2 separate regions of the Homo sapiens genome follow, and region 2 is linked to region 1. The links are contacts of gene promoters, found by promoter capture Hi-C in human tissues and cell types (Jung and others, 2019). All regions are on one chromosome and are shown on one strand. Each heading gives the region's core, a stretch centred on a gene start or on the middle of the fragment in contact. The rest is flanking DNA. Distances are from core to core; before and after follow the strand shown.

Evidence for each region. Contacts are between HindIII fragments. The study calls those that stand out against the background at their distance.
Region 2: a fragment that was not itself captured here is called in contact with the fragment with the promoter of TEX2 in region 1 in 10 of the 25 tissues and cell types used here (H1 embryonic stem cells, IMR-90 fibroblasts, aorta and 7 more).

The regions. Positions count from the first base shown.
Region 1 is chr17:64,259,562-64,266,249 of GRCh38, reverse strand. It overlaps TEX2 (testis expressed 2), which reads left to right and starts at 2,990. Exons shown (of 12, transcript NM_001288732.2): 1 at 2,990-3,082. RefSeq lists a silencer at 2,793-3,402. The HindIII fragment of the contact is 9,945 bases long and covers 1-6,688 here.
Region 2 is chr17:64,147,358-64,154,045 of GRCh38, reverse strand. TEX2 (testis expressed 2) reads left to right here. Exons shown (of 12, transcript NM_001288732.2): 10 at 892-1,101; 11 at 3,085-3,205; 12 at 4,955-6,688. The coding sequence ends at 5,077. Among named protein-coding and RNA genes, the nearest start is that of SNORA50C, 4.4 kb to the right of the region's middle. The HindIII fragment of the contact is 7,367 bases long and covers 1-6,296 here.

The DNA of each region.
Region 1 (6,688 bases), core at 1,741-4,240:
ACTTCAGTTTCTGCATCCATAAAAAGGAGAAAATAATGGTCATATCTACCCTAAAGAGTTACTGTAAGGTTTCAGTGAACTGCTATGTTCCAGGGACTTGGCATAGTACCTGGCACATAGTAACCTCTTAATAGGTAGGAAACAGGCCAGGCGCAGTGGCTCACACCTGTAATCCCAGGACTTTGGGAGGCCGAGGCTGAGGTGGGCAGATCACCTGAGCTCAAGAGTTCAAGACCAGCCTGGCCAACATGGTGAAACCTTGTATCTACTAAAAATAAAAATAAAAAAAATTAGCCAGGTGTGGTGGCGTGTGCCTGTAGTCCCAGCTACTCAGGGAGGCTGAGGCAGGAGAATTGCTTGAAACCAGGAGTTTGAGACCAGCCTGGACAACATGGTCTCAAACTCTTGGGCTCTCCTCCTGAGCGGGGGTTGCAGTGAGCCAAGGTCACGCCACTGCACTCCCGCCTGGGCAACATGACAGAGGCTGACTCCATCTCAAAAAAAAAAAAAAAAAAAAAGGTAGGAAACATTATTGTGTTATGATATGTTCATTTATTTTTCAATGCATCCAAATTCCTCAGATTTCAAAAAGAAGGGATCCTTCTAAGTGTTCATGCTGGATCTTACTGGCTTCTAGTTTGAGATCTGGTTGGTAGTGTATTAATTAATTTAATGCTTACGTGGAGCTTGGTAGGGAAAGGAGGTTGGTGGGCACTCTGAGAGGCACATTGCCAGCTTCCAAGGACCTTTGCAAGGGGCAGCTCCAGGGCCCCTACCCTTTCTCTCTCTCTCTCCCTGAGGCAGGGGGCTGAAGATGTGGCCAAGGAGAGCTTCAGGCTGTGTCTCCATTGGTAACTGCCTTTGTTGCACATTTCCAGAAAACCACAACTGGAAACCTCTTCTGTTGGGACATGAATTCTTTTTCCTTTGGGAAGGGCAACAGAAGCAAGTGGTGATCCCAGGCAGTAATGCCTGCAGCCCAGAGACTGCATTCTCATGAGGCTGATCAATCCTTGTGCAGAGTTGTCCCTGGCAACACAACATCCATCAGAAATCACAGCACAAACAGGGTTATTGTGTGGAGGCCATTCCAAGAGCCTGAGATCTGTGTGGGAGGCAGCTGACCTGCAAGATCTAGTGGGCGAGGGCTGACCTCCAAGTCTGAGGACAATGACTTCTGGGTCAGGCAGGTGTCTGGGATACTAGGAAGGGGAGAGGAATGTTGCCAGGAGGGTAGGCAGGGCTTGCTGGCATTGGAATGAGGCACCAGAGTAGCAGGGCATTCTTCTGGGATCATGACTGGGCCTGGTGGTGAGCCGGAGTGTGTCTGCCATTAAGATATTTATGCACTGTCTCACGGGTCAGAGAACTAGCCTGGCTTCCCTCTGCTTGAGGCATCAAATCTTCTTCCTGCTTGAGGATTTCAATCTTTCAGATGTTGTTTCATCTGGGTCCAGTGCCCTTCTACACTCAGTTCTTGGCATGACTTATTCTGTTATGAGTGTCTTAGTAGGTGACCTCCTCCCTTACTAGCAAGTCTCCCAACCATATTACTAATTCTGAGGATGAAAGGAGTTTGGCTTTCATTTTGCCAATTGAATTTGAATTTCATGACTATGATAGACTCAAAACACGCACCTGAGTGTGGTCCTTGTACCACTTGCATTAGAATCACCTGGAGGGAGGGGTGTCGAAGGCCATCTCAGACTTACTGAATTACAGGTTCTGGGGTGGGACTTAGAGATCTTCATGTTAAAACCCTCCAGGATGATCTGACGTTGAAGATCTGACATTTGGGACCCACTAATGCAGGAGACACACTGACACATCTGTTTGTTGTCTTGGTCCTTTCTTGTGGTGGGTGGGAAGTGCAGAGGGGCAAGGACTACGGGGGAAGGGGGAACTCTCCCTATGTGCCAGTGCTTCTGCCAGCCAACCCAGGTTCGCAGAAGATAAATGCACAATGGGCATTGCCATCCCAGGAAGCTCATTCTAAGTGAGAATTTACCTCGAGAAGTCACTTTACCTCTCTGAGCCTCAGATATTGCCTCTCTAAAAATGAGTAGTTAATACTATATAAGTTCTAAGCTCTAAGAACTCGTGGCCAGGCGCGGTGGCTCACGCCTGTAATCCCAGTACTTTGGGAGGCTGGGTCCGGCGGATCACGAGGTCAAGAGACCGAGACCATCCTGGCCAACATGGTGAAACCCCGTCTCTACTAAAAATACAAAAATTAGCTGGGCATGGTGGCACGCGCCTGTAATCCCAGCTACTCGGAAGGCTGAGGCAGGAGAATCGCTTTAACCCAGGAGGCGGAGGTTGCAGTGAGCCCAGATGACGGCACTGCACTCCAGCCTGGCGACAGAGCGAGACTCCGTCTCAAACAAAAAAACTAGTAACAGAGTTAGTTCAGGATAGGATGTGGTAGTGTGGTAGTCAGGTGGGGGAAGTACATAATGCGGGAAACTGGGAATTTGCCTTTTTAAATCAATGTCTGCAGTTGGATGGGGATAGATACGTCTGATGGCCCTCTAAAATGCAAATCGAGTGAATTTGCCCAGGGGGATACCCCTGGTTCTCCGCGCCTCAGTCACCCCACCTCAACCCCCAGCCCTCGTCTCAAGGGCACTTGTTGCTGCTAGACTGCAGGAAGAGGAAATTAAGAAGTGCAAAGAGCTGGGGACAGTGTGCAGCCCCGTTGGGAGAGTGAAGCTTTTGTCCCCCTCACCTGGGGCTCTTCCAGGTAACCCTCCCCACCACTCCTCTCCCTAGCTCCAAGGGCGGTGGCCCCTTTAACAGACCTGACAAATCGCTCCCCCATTTCCGCGGCCTCACCTCGGCGCGCGGTAGAACTGGATTGGTTGGGCCTGGCGTGCCGTTTGCTCCGCCCCCGCGCCCTCTGGTTGGCGGCGGCGGCCGCGGGCGCGGGGCGGGTCCGCCGGCGGGGCGGGGCGGCGTGTGCCCGGGGGCGGGCGGGCGGCAGGGCAGCAGGACCGCGGCCGGTGCCCCAGCCGAAGCCGGAGTCGCGCGGCCGGGAGCACGGGCGCCGGCATAGTACAATGAGGCAGCCAGCGGATCTTGGGTGAGCAGTCTCAGGGCCAGGCGGGGGCGGTGGAGGGAGCGCCCCGCGGATAAGGCCCGGGCTGGGCGCGGATCGACCCCGCGGGCTTCAAAGTACCGGTCGGGTCCGGCGGCCCTTGGCGTGGCGGGGCTCGGCCCCCCACCCCGCTGTCATGGTTCAGGTATTGAAGGGGACGCCCACCCGCGACACCCCCGGGCAATCCCTTCCTTCGGGGCCCCGCCGGATGGCTCGGGCTCGACTCCGGCGGGAGGAGCTGCCGGCCCCGTCCCCTCAGCCTGCGGTCCCCGGCCCCGGGCAGGGAGGCACCGTCACGCGCAAACTAGAGGAAAACGGCTTGCAATTTTATGAATGGGGCCCCGGGTTCCTGCCGCCCCCCTCACCGGCGACGCGAAATGCTTGAAAGTCGAGAACCGCAGTTACTTTTACTCGAATCTGTCAGAGGTTGTATGCGCCCCGGTGGTTTTTCTCCAACTCCTGGAGAACGCGGGTGGCGGTGGGGTGGTTTGTGTGCTTTAGCAGGGAGGCGGCGGCGTGCCGAAATCCGGGGGATCGGAAGGTTAACAAGTGACATTGGGCTGAGGCCTAGCGCCAGGTGCCTTGCGGGGAGGCGGTGTGGCCGTGGACGCCGTCGCTGCTGGCTGCTGAGCACGGAAACCATACGGTGGAACCGGAGAAGGCGGGGAACGGCTGGCCACATTGCACCACACGCTGCCTAGAGCGTACGGCTGCCATGGGAGTTGGTGCAGGGGAGTCTTCCCCTTTTGAAAACGATTTTTGGAAAACTTAGCCCCTCAGTGGGTTGATAGTTACTTAAACCATCGGTTGTTATGGTTACTGGGCGTCAAATGTAAGGGCAAAGTCTGTTTCCACCCTCGCTCTTTCTCCAGAGCTATGAAGTACTTTGTCACTGTGTTTTACAGACACTGTCCAGGGAGGACATCCTTTTTTAGAGTTGAGGGAAAATTGTGGGCTCCTTGAGGGCAGGGCTCGTGCCACGTTCACGTTTGAAGTGCCAGCGTCTTCACACCATCACCGCTCTGCACATGCATTAAAAGGAATGAGGCTTTTACATGTTTTGAGGATTCTCAGAGGATTCAGAGGAGTCATTTCAGGAGCCAGGTGTAAGCTGGAGGGGAAACAACGAGTGACTTTTATATGGAAAACAATAAGGAAAAATGGAGGGCAGGTTATCCTTGAACTCTGGAGTATGGGGAGTTTGAGGAGTCTAGGTTTGTGAGTTTTAGGGCTGGGTCACACAGAGACGCTTGTCTCATATTGGAAGAATGAAACTGCCATTTCTGTTAGCTCTTACCTAGCCCATAAACAATATTCTTTCAGATTCTCCCCAAAAATGGTAGTTGGTCTAAAGTTATGGTAAACAAGCCCCCTGAGGTGATGTGGATAGAGTGGGATTTTGCCATATCATTTCTTTCTTTTTTTTCTGGGCCCCTTTGGGAGTGTGAAGGCTTGGAGGGAGAGGATGTGGAGGGCTCTGGGTGAACTGAACTTGCTTGCATGTTTATCTCCAGTAAAAGGCACTGTGCCTGAGAGGAAGGAGATTAACAAATTGATTCAGATCAGAAGATGGTGGTAATTGAGTCTACTGACAAGCAACCGAGGGGCTGGGACAGACGAGGAGGGAGGAAAAATTCAGGAGTTTGGTTTGGGCTGATTGTTGGAGGTCTGAAGAGCAAGTTATGTCATCGTGAGAGAAGATTAGACACAGCATATACCAAACATAATGTTCATTATTAGAGGTTATGTTAGAATGCTTCTGGAGAAGAAGCAGGAAAGATTAGGCTTTTCGATAGAATAAATACGTAGCATGTTTTGGACAAAAAGCAGTTGCCTGGAGTTAAAAAAGAAATTATTTATTAAAATAATAATAATTTTGCTGTATGCCAGAAACTGCTAGACATTATAGAAATGATGGAGGGTTTTTTTGTTTTTAAAGGATGAAGAGTTTGTTTCTATATGCCATATTAGTTGCCTTTCCTTCAAGTCAAATGCTTCTGTTTTCTGGAAGGTTTTCTGAATCCCTTGAGGAAAGAGAGGGGAGAACTGCACAGTTTATTACTTAATATGAGAACAGAGCAATGGGGAAATTCTCCTCACTGTAGATTACTTTCAGTATCAAAGTGAATCTTCAAAGACCAGTTTTCTGTGTCAGGTTCAATATAAAATTATATTAATCCTCACGTCTGTTGACTGGTATCTTTTGATGGAAAGTGCCTGTTCTTTCTTTTTTTCCATTTGTCAATTCATTCATTCAGAGTTAGGAAGTTCATTAAACACACACTGTCTCTTGTTCTCTAGGTGTTTCTAGTTCATTTTCTTTGCCTGAATATCCCTCAGGGTCTGCTTTCTTCTGTCTGATCCTTATCTCCTGAAGGTCTCCTTGGGAATTGCTGAGGTCACAGGGAATGCTTATTCTTTGATTCTGTCCCAAGGCAGAAGACTAGTATAGAAAAGAGAGCAGTGTTGAGTTCCAACTCAGCCAGGTACTGTTTTCTGCCCCTTATGTATATATCCTCTCCAGTCCTAGAGCAGCCCTCTAATGGAGGTGTGATAGCCTCATTTTACAGAAGAGGAAACCGAGGCTCAGAGCAAAGTAGTAACTTGCCCAAGGTGACAAGCTGGTTAGATGGTGGAGCAAGAATGTCAGTCTAGGACATTGATTCAAAAAACGTGCTTTTTGGGCCAGGCACAGTGGCTCACATCTTGTAATCCCAGTACCTTGGGAGGCCAAGGCAAGAGGTTTACTTGAGGCCAAGGGTTTGAGACCATCCTGGATGACAGAGTAAGACCCTGTGTCCAAGCAAACAAAACACACTTTTTCCATTGTACCACGTTGTTTTTCCCTGGAGAGAAATGGCAGTTTATTAGAGATGTCTCTTGCAGTGTCCTCTTGAGTGGACATGTTCAGAGTGGTCAGGTTCAGAGATGTTCAGAGAATTGCTGCACTAATGAGCTCCTGTGCTCCTGCTGGAGCCAGAGTTAGATGCCGATGTCTGTCTCTCTGCCAAGTGCAGTTTTGAGTAATTCACGAGGCTATTGGGAAATCTTTTACTGCCATGAAAAGGTGACTGGACTGACTGGGTCTGTATCCTTGTGCTCTGCTTACCAGCTCTGTGACCTTAAGGGTAAATTACTTCTCTTTCTGTGTACCTCAGTTTCTTTGTAAAGTGGGAAAATATTCCCATTTCAACAATGCTAAGACAGTGTAATTTATGTAATGTTAACATTCCTGGGGAAAAAAAGCATCTTGTAATGTATGGGGTCTTAGACTTGTAGTCAGCAGTGGCTTCCTTTTTTGGCACATAAAATAACAGTGTGTCTTATAGTCAATGGTCTTAGATGAACTAGGGTAGTATATTATTTATAGGTAGTTGTAAGAATTAAATGAGATCACTTATGTCCCTGGTTCTAGTGAGCACCCAATAACAGGTCATGCTGTCCACTGACAGGATGAATGGTTAACTGGGAAAAGCTGGGAAGCATCTCGTAAGATTTGCCACTCAACGCCTAGGCAATAATCCATGGTTTGTGGCTGGAGGAACATTTTCCAATTTGCCTAGAGCACTATCCTTTGGCTGACTCTTGTCC
Region 2 (6,688 bases), core at 1,364-3,863, 110 kb after region 1:
AATATCCTTTCTTCTGAGTCTCATGGTACATGTGACCTGATACAACAGCTTATTTTCTTGGCCTGTGAGCACGTCAACTTGGTGTAGCATTTTGTTTGTTTGTTTGTTTTCTTGAGACAGCATCTTGCTCTGTCACCCAGGCCTGGAGTGCAGTGGCACGATCATAGCTCAATGCAGCCTCAACCTCCTGGGCTCAAGTGATCCTCCCATTTTAGCCTCCCGAGTAGCTGGGACTACAGATGCACACCACCACTCCTGGCTAATTTTCTGTTTGTTTTTTGTAGAGATGGGGGTCTCACTGTGTTGCCCAGGCTACATTTTTCTTTAAGAAGTTCCAAGCCCTTTGAAAAGTAATTGCCACTCAAGGTAGCCATGTGACACCACCTAAAGACAGTCCATTAATTACTGATTTATGTCCTATTGATGCAGCATGATTTGTTACTTGCTGCATGGAGATTATGAGATTGATATGTCATTGGATTTCTGTCTGGTATTGGAGTAGTATAAAGGAGGACAGGTGAGAAACCTCTGCATGAGGACTTTGTCCAGCTCTCCATTGTCAAGGTTTGGACTGTTTCAGACATTTACACCTTCTCTGAAGTAGTAGTTCTCAACTGGGGGTGATTTGGCCCCCCAGAGGACATTTGCCGATGTCTGGCAACATTTTTTATTGTCATAACTAGGGGGAGTGCTATTGGCATCTGGTAGGTAGAGACCAGGGATGCTGCTGAACACCCTGCAATGCACAGGATGCCCCCCGCCCCAACACAGAATCACCACATCCAAAACATCGAGTGGTGCTCTAAAGTAAGGGGAACGAAGAGCCACAGGTTTTTGTCTGTGAAAAGAGCAAAGTTTGTGCTAACCGCCCTTTGTGTTCCACATTTGAAGGTACGTTGGAGGTCATCGAACAAGTAAGATTATGAGGTTTGTTGATAAAATTACCAAGTCAAAATATTTCCAAAAAGCAACAGAGACAGAGTTTATTAAAAAGAAGATCGAAGAAGTCTCCAACACACCCCTGCTGCTCACTGTTGAAGTACAAGAATGTAGAGGAACCTTGGCGGTCAACATTCCACCACCCCCGACTGACCGAGTATGGTGCGTAGAGGGCCCTCAGGGACAATAAGTGATTCCTCCTATTGCATGGCCACAGAAATCCCAGCCTGCTTAACCTTGAGGTTATGGAAAGTACCTTCTCCCGGGCAGAAGCACTTCCAAACAATTTTCATGGGACCTTAATATTAGTTGCAAATCTGATGGTACTTTCTTCTGTGAGTGGTGAATTCACATTCAAGAATTCATGTTCACATGGTAGGAAAAGTTAAAGTCAATACATGAAGTTTATGAGATAAGCTGTTTCTATTATTGGTCTTCCTCCTCTGTAAAGCCAACTGTTCTGCCAGTAATAACAGCTGTCATTTGTAGATAGCGCCTTTATTCTCTGCCTGGCCCTGGTTGTAATTGCATTACCTGATTAGTCCTCATAGCATCCTGTTGAGGTAGATGCCATTGTTATCCCTACTTTAAAGATGGGGATCACACATCCAACAGAGTCTGGGAAGTTAGGGAGACTTCCCTGAGTTAGGCCTCAATGCTGAGGAGTCAGGAGCATGTGCATTTGGTGTCTGAGGACTGGATTCTCAGCCCCAGCTGCATGTTAAAATCACCTGGGGACTTGCTAAAAATATAGCTATGCCTGGCCCATCCCCCCGGATTTCAGGGGTCGGGGGTGATGAAGCCAGGGTTGAGAGTCACTGAAATAAATTACTGATGAGTTCAGCATCACTGCCTGTGAATCTCAATTTAAAATTGACATGCTAAGTCCTATAAAAATGGGCATAAGTGTAAATAGTGATTGCATAAGAGATCTCATTGTACCATAAACTACACTCATAACAAAAATATAGCTCTGTTCTATCATAGAGTAAAACCAACATGCTAGTACATACCATCGGTATTCAGAAGGATTTGTAGGAATGATCAGAAGAGGGGTTTTGAATTGACTAACCATTTAACGATAATGCTGGTATTTCCCAATAAAACTTTAAAATGCCTTTTTATACTTTTTTAAAGTAATATTTTCATTGTTAAAAAAAAGAGAAAGATTGGGAAAAGGTGAAAAATAGATAAATAAATAAAAACCCATAATCTCACCATCCAGAAATAACCACTGTTAATATATTGTATGGTCTTTCAAACCTTAAAAAAATTTTAATAGTTAAAATTGATACATTTCTTCTCCTTACTGCCAATTCTTTAGATTTATCAGTTTTAAATGCCTCTGCTCAGGGGGAGATAAAATAAAAGGGCTCTAGGATAGTGCTACCCAAGGCATGCTCAAATGCTGAACTATGTGTTATTGATCCATAAAGATAAGTATAGAGTGTTTAGAAATATTTATGGCAACTTGACATTTTTACTGTATTTCCAAAAGCACTGGTCCAGGACAGATTTAAGGTTTTAGATAGTTGATAGCATACAGGGTCTTGTCTGGATACTTTGCCAACAGTTCTGATTGCCAGTCTGCTCCCTCGGGAAGTCATACAAAGCGTATTGTTGGGGTGTAGGATGAAAAAACAGGTTTCAAACCTTATTGATCGACATATGCACAGGAGAATGTAAGGGGAGTTCACCCTACTTCTGTCAATAGTCCTCTCTTGGGGATGACATTCAGAGAGAGGCAGTGTGTCTTTCACTCTCTGCTTTATCTGCTTGTATGTATGTTTTGTTTTTGTAATGTACATATACTACTTTTATAAAAATTGAAAGAAAAAAGGTTATTGCCATTTTAGAAAAAAACAGAAACCAATGCCCAGGTCATGGACTTTTCCAGTGGTGCTTCCTGGCTCTCTCAGTTTGTCAGAACTGTTCTAAATCCGCCACAGCCCTAACACCATCCAGGGAACACAGGGGGTTCACAATTCATACTTTGTGTGTGGAATATTTTTAGAGGGCATTTTCAGAAGAAAATAACATTTTAAGTAGTGATAAAGCCCCATGTAAATGAGAACTGTTTGCTGTCAGTGCCTGTCTCATTCCTTGCTTTGCTTCTAAATGTGGTTATTACTTGTCTTCAAAAAGGTATGGTTTCCGAAAGCCACCACATGTGGAGCTGAAAGCTCGGCCAAAACTTGGAGAGAGAGAAGTGACTTTAGTTCATGTGACAGACTGGATAGAGAAGAAACTGGAGCAAGAGTTTCAGGTAAACCTCTAGTGTTATCTAGTATTTCACACCAAGTATAGAAGCTCTGGGTTTAGCCGAGGTTCTGAACTTCAGCTGGGTCAGGATCCTCTTTTGAAAATCTGATGGTGACCTTCATCCCGGAAGAGTATTACATTTGATCAAATATGGGAATAAAACTTCAGGTACAGTATCAAAGCCCTGAAACTTATCCACAGAACATTACTAAGTCATCTTCAGAGGAAACCCAAAAGATTTGGGTCAGAGCAAAATGATGATGTCTTTTCCCAGCAAGCCTGCCAGGACTGTCAGGCTTTGTTTTCTCTTATGCAAGGCCTGGCCTTGCCCAACTCTTAGCACCCGGCCTGTGGGCAGGGAGGCTGCCCCCTGTTCTTGTGTGCTGTTCACCTTGCTCAGTTTGTTCAGTTCAACAAACATTCCTGGAAACCCTTCTGTGTGCCAGGTACCACCTGCCCTGGGAGTCCAAAGATGAATCTGGCCTCTCCCTCCCCTGGGTAGCTTCTAGTGTAGTCTGGGAGTTCATTAAGCCAGAGCTTACTCTCTCAGCTTTTCTTTCTGCATTTGGCCACCAAAGGTAATAGCAGTATAGCTGAGGCCCTAGGATGAGCTATTTCCATCAAACTTTTATCAGATATTTGAAGCACAGTTGTCTGTCGGGGTTTTATGGATTAGCAAACTATTTACTTTTAATGAAATTCACCTTTTGAAGAAGACCTACATTCTTTTTGCAGTGGTATATTTTGAGTTACTGCCTTAAAAAAATCCTCTTATTTAAAAACTAGAGATTAAACATAACTGATAACCAATTTCTGAAAAAGCTTAATGTCATCACCAAATAGAAAAGTACTTTGAACCTACTGAGGGGAAAGAACATCATGCCTTTTATTTTTCCCTTTTTCTTTCTTTTTTTTTTTTTTTTTTTTAAGACAGAGTCTTGCTGTGTCGCCCAGGCTGGAGTGCAATGGCGCCATCTCGGCTCACTGCAAACTCCGTCCCCCAGGTTCACACCATTCTCATGCCTCAGCCTCCCGAGTAGCTGGGACTACAGGCACCCGCCACCACACCCAGCTAATTTTTTGTATTTTTAGTAGAGATGGGGGTTTCACTGTATTAGCCAGGATGGTCTCGATCTCCTAACCTCGTGATCTGCCCACCTCGGCCTCCCAAAGTGCTGGGATTACAGGTGTGAGCTACCATGCCTGGCCTAATTTTTTGGTATTTTTAGTTGAGACAGGGTTTCACCATGTTGGCCAGGCTGGTCTTGAACTCTGGACCTCAGATGATCTGCCTGCCTTGGCCTCCCAAAGTACTGGGATTACAGGCGTGAACCATCGCACCTGGCCATTAGCTTACATTTTATCGCTAGGATTTATTAATAAAAGGATAATTCACATGGAATATGTGTTCTAGACATAGTAACTGGGAACTACTGTGAACAGCTTAAGCCAATTCTCTTAAATTGTTGGATATATATCAGTGCATATGGGCAACCTTATTATATGTATACAAAATCAAAGGCCACTTCTGCCTCCGAGCTGATATATTAGAGGATTCTCGTATCCATGCGCTGGTATGATTCCTCAACTCTTTCTAAAGTATGTATGGTGGGAGAATTAGTTTGGAATGCATAGCAAGTTTTTATATGTACTTTTAAAAATCAGTCTAAGCCCTAAAATTATCAGAACAAAGGAGGGTGACAGCCTGGCAAGGCATTCTTCCACATAGCTGTTCTTTAATATCTTCCTACAGAAAGTTTTTGTCATGCCAAACATGGATGATGTTTATATCACTATAATGCACTCAGCCATGGACCCTCGCTCTACTTCCTGCCTCCTGAAAGACCCACCTGTGGAGGCTGCTGATCAGCCATGATGGGTGATGTCAGATGTTCCCCATATTGTGACATCGAGCTGGATGTGTGGGGTTCTTGGCCGCCATCTGTACTGTAGCACTGGCCTCTGTGCCACAGCTACTGTTTCTTAAAGGACTGCTTCTGCCCTCTGCCTGCCAGTGCCCATTCCACTGTGAGGTGTCATTCCCTGCATCTAGTGACAACTGTCTGGATTGCCTGCTGCAAAGCTTTGATTTGGCAAAGGAGACCATGGAAGAATCATGGTGGATCCAGAAGTTATACGTGACCCACACCATGGCTTTTAAAAGTCTACCCATGTTTGTGGCAGCAAATGAGCACAGTAAGAGCAAAGCTGAACAACTTGCCTCCTCTACTCCTCCAAAGCTTTTCTTCAGGCAGCCGGTGCACAGTGGACTTTTTCACTTCTATACTTTGTATGCGGCCTTCCACACTTCCAGAGAATGTCAGTGTGCAATGTGTCTGGAGGGTGGGGAGAGGAATTCTGTGAGCCTTTTCATTTCGGTGACAGAAGAGATGGGCAGAGCAACTTATTTTCCACATTAAATTGTGCATTTGGGAAGCAAGTAGCCATAGTACACACACAACACGCTATCAGCTTGGGTAAGGACAGTGGGATTTATGTGAACATCAGGCAAAGCCATGAGATCAAACCATCCCAAGCCTTTCACCAATGAGGTACAACCACCTGGGGGCTAGCTAATCTTGAATGTTTTCCTGAGACAGGAGCGTATGTGAAAACATCAAACACTGCACATGACAGGATGGGTCCTCTCATACAGATGGGATGGGGTTAGAAAGCCAGAGCCAGTTTTTCCATCTGGCGTTTCCTGTGTCCTCCAGGTTTATATGGGAATCGAAACAGTTTGTTAATCTGATTGGGAGAGTTCCATGGGCAGATTTCCCTTCCTGAAGGCCAAAACGGAGAACTGCTCTCTTTAATTATTTCAAGAGTCAAGACCAAAAGTTTGCTCAGCATCACACTACATCTCAAAATTAATGTTGCCAACTTAATTTTGTGCATTTGTGTCAGAATGTTTAGTTTACAAGGTTGGGGGCTCTCTTTGCTTCGAGAAGTAAACCTAATACCATTTTTTTATTGTTTAAAGCTGCATTCAACGTCAAAATTACCTTGGGTAACTTTTGATAACTTACATGTGTGGACAAAGCTAATAGTGGTTTTTTAAACAGCACCTTGCCTGAACATGACTTTAAAGAAATTAATATATTGAAAACATGTTTGAACCCTTATTTTAATTGCACCATTAAAACATTTGACTTAAATTGTTTGACCATTCCAGTTGGTGTACTGTTCTGATTTTTCGTTGTGTAGGCCGATCTGCCTGTCAGAGTCCACGTGTCCTGGTCACTGGTCTTTATAATTGTTGTGCAATAACTAAAGGCTAAGGACTAGATGCACTATCGTGTAAAGAGATTACACATGACTGTACCATGTTGCACTTAATCAAATAGTATGTGGGGATTTAAAATCGCTTGCATTGTTTCACAAAATAAATATCTCAATGTCAAATACTAGATAAGCATCTAAGTCATTTCTACGGAATCCTGTTCAGATAGGGGCACAATAAAATGAGTACAGAGCACCGGGGCCC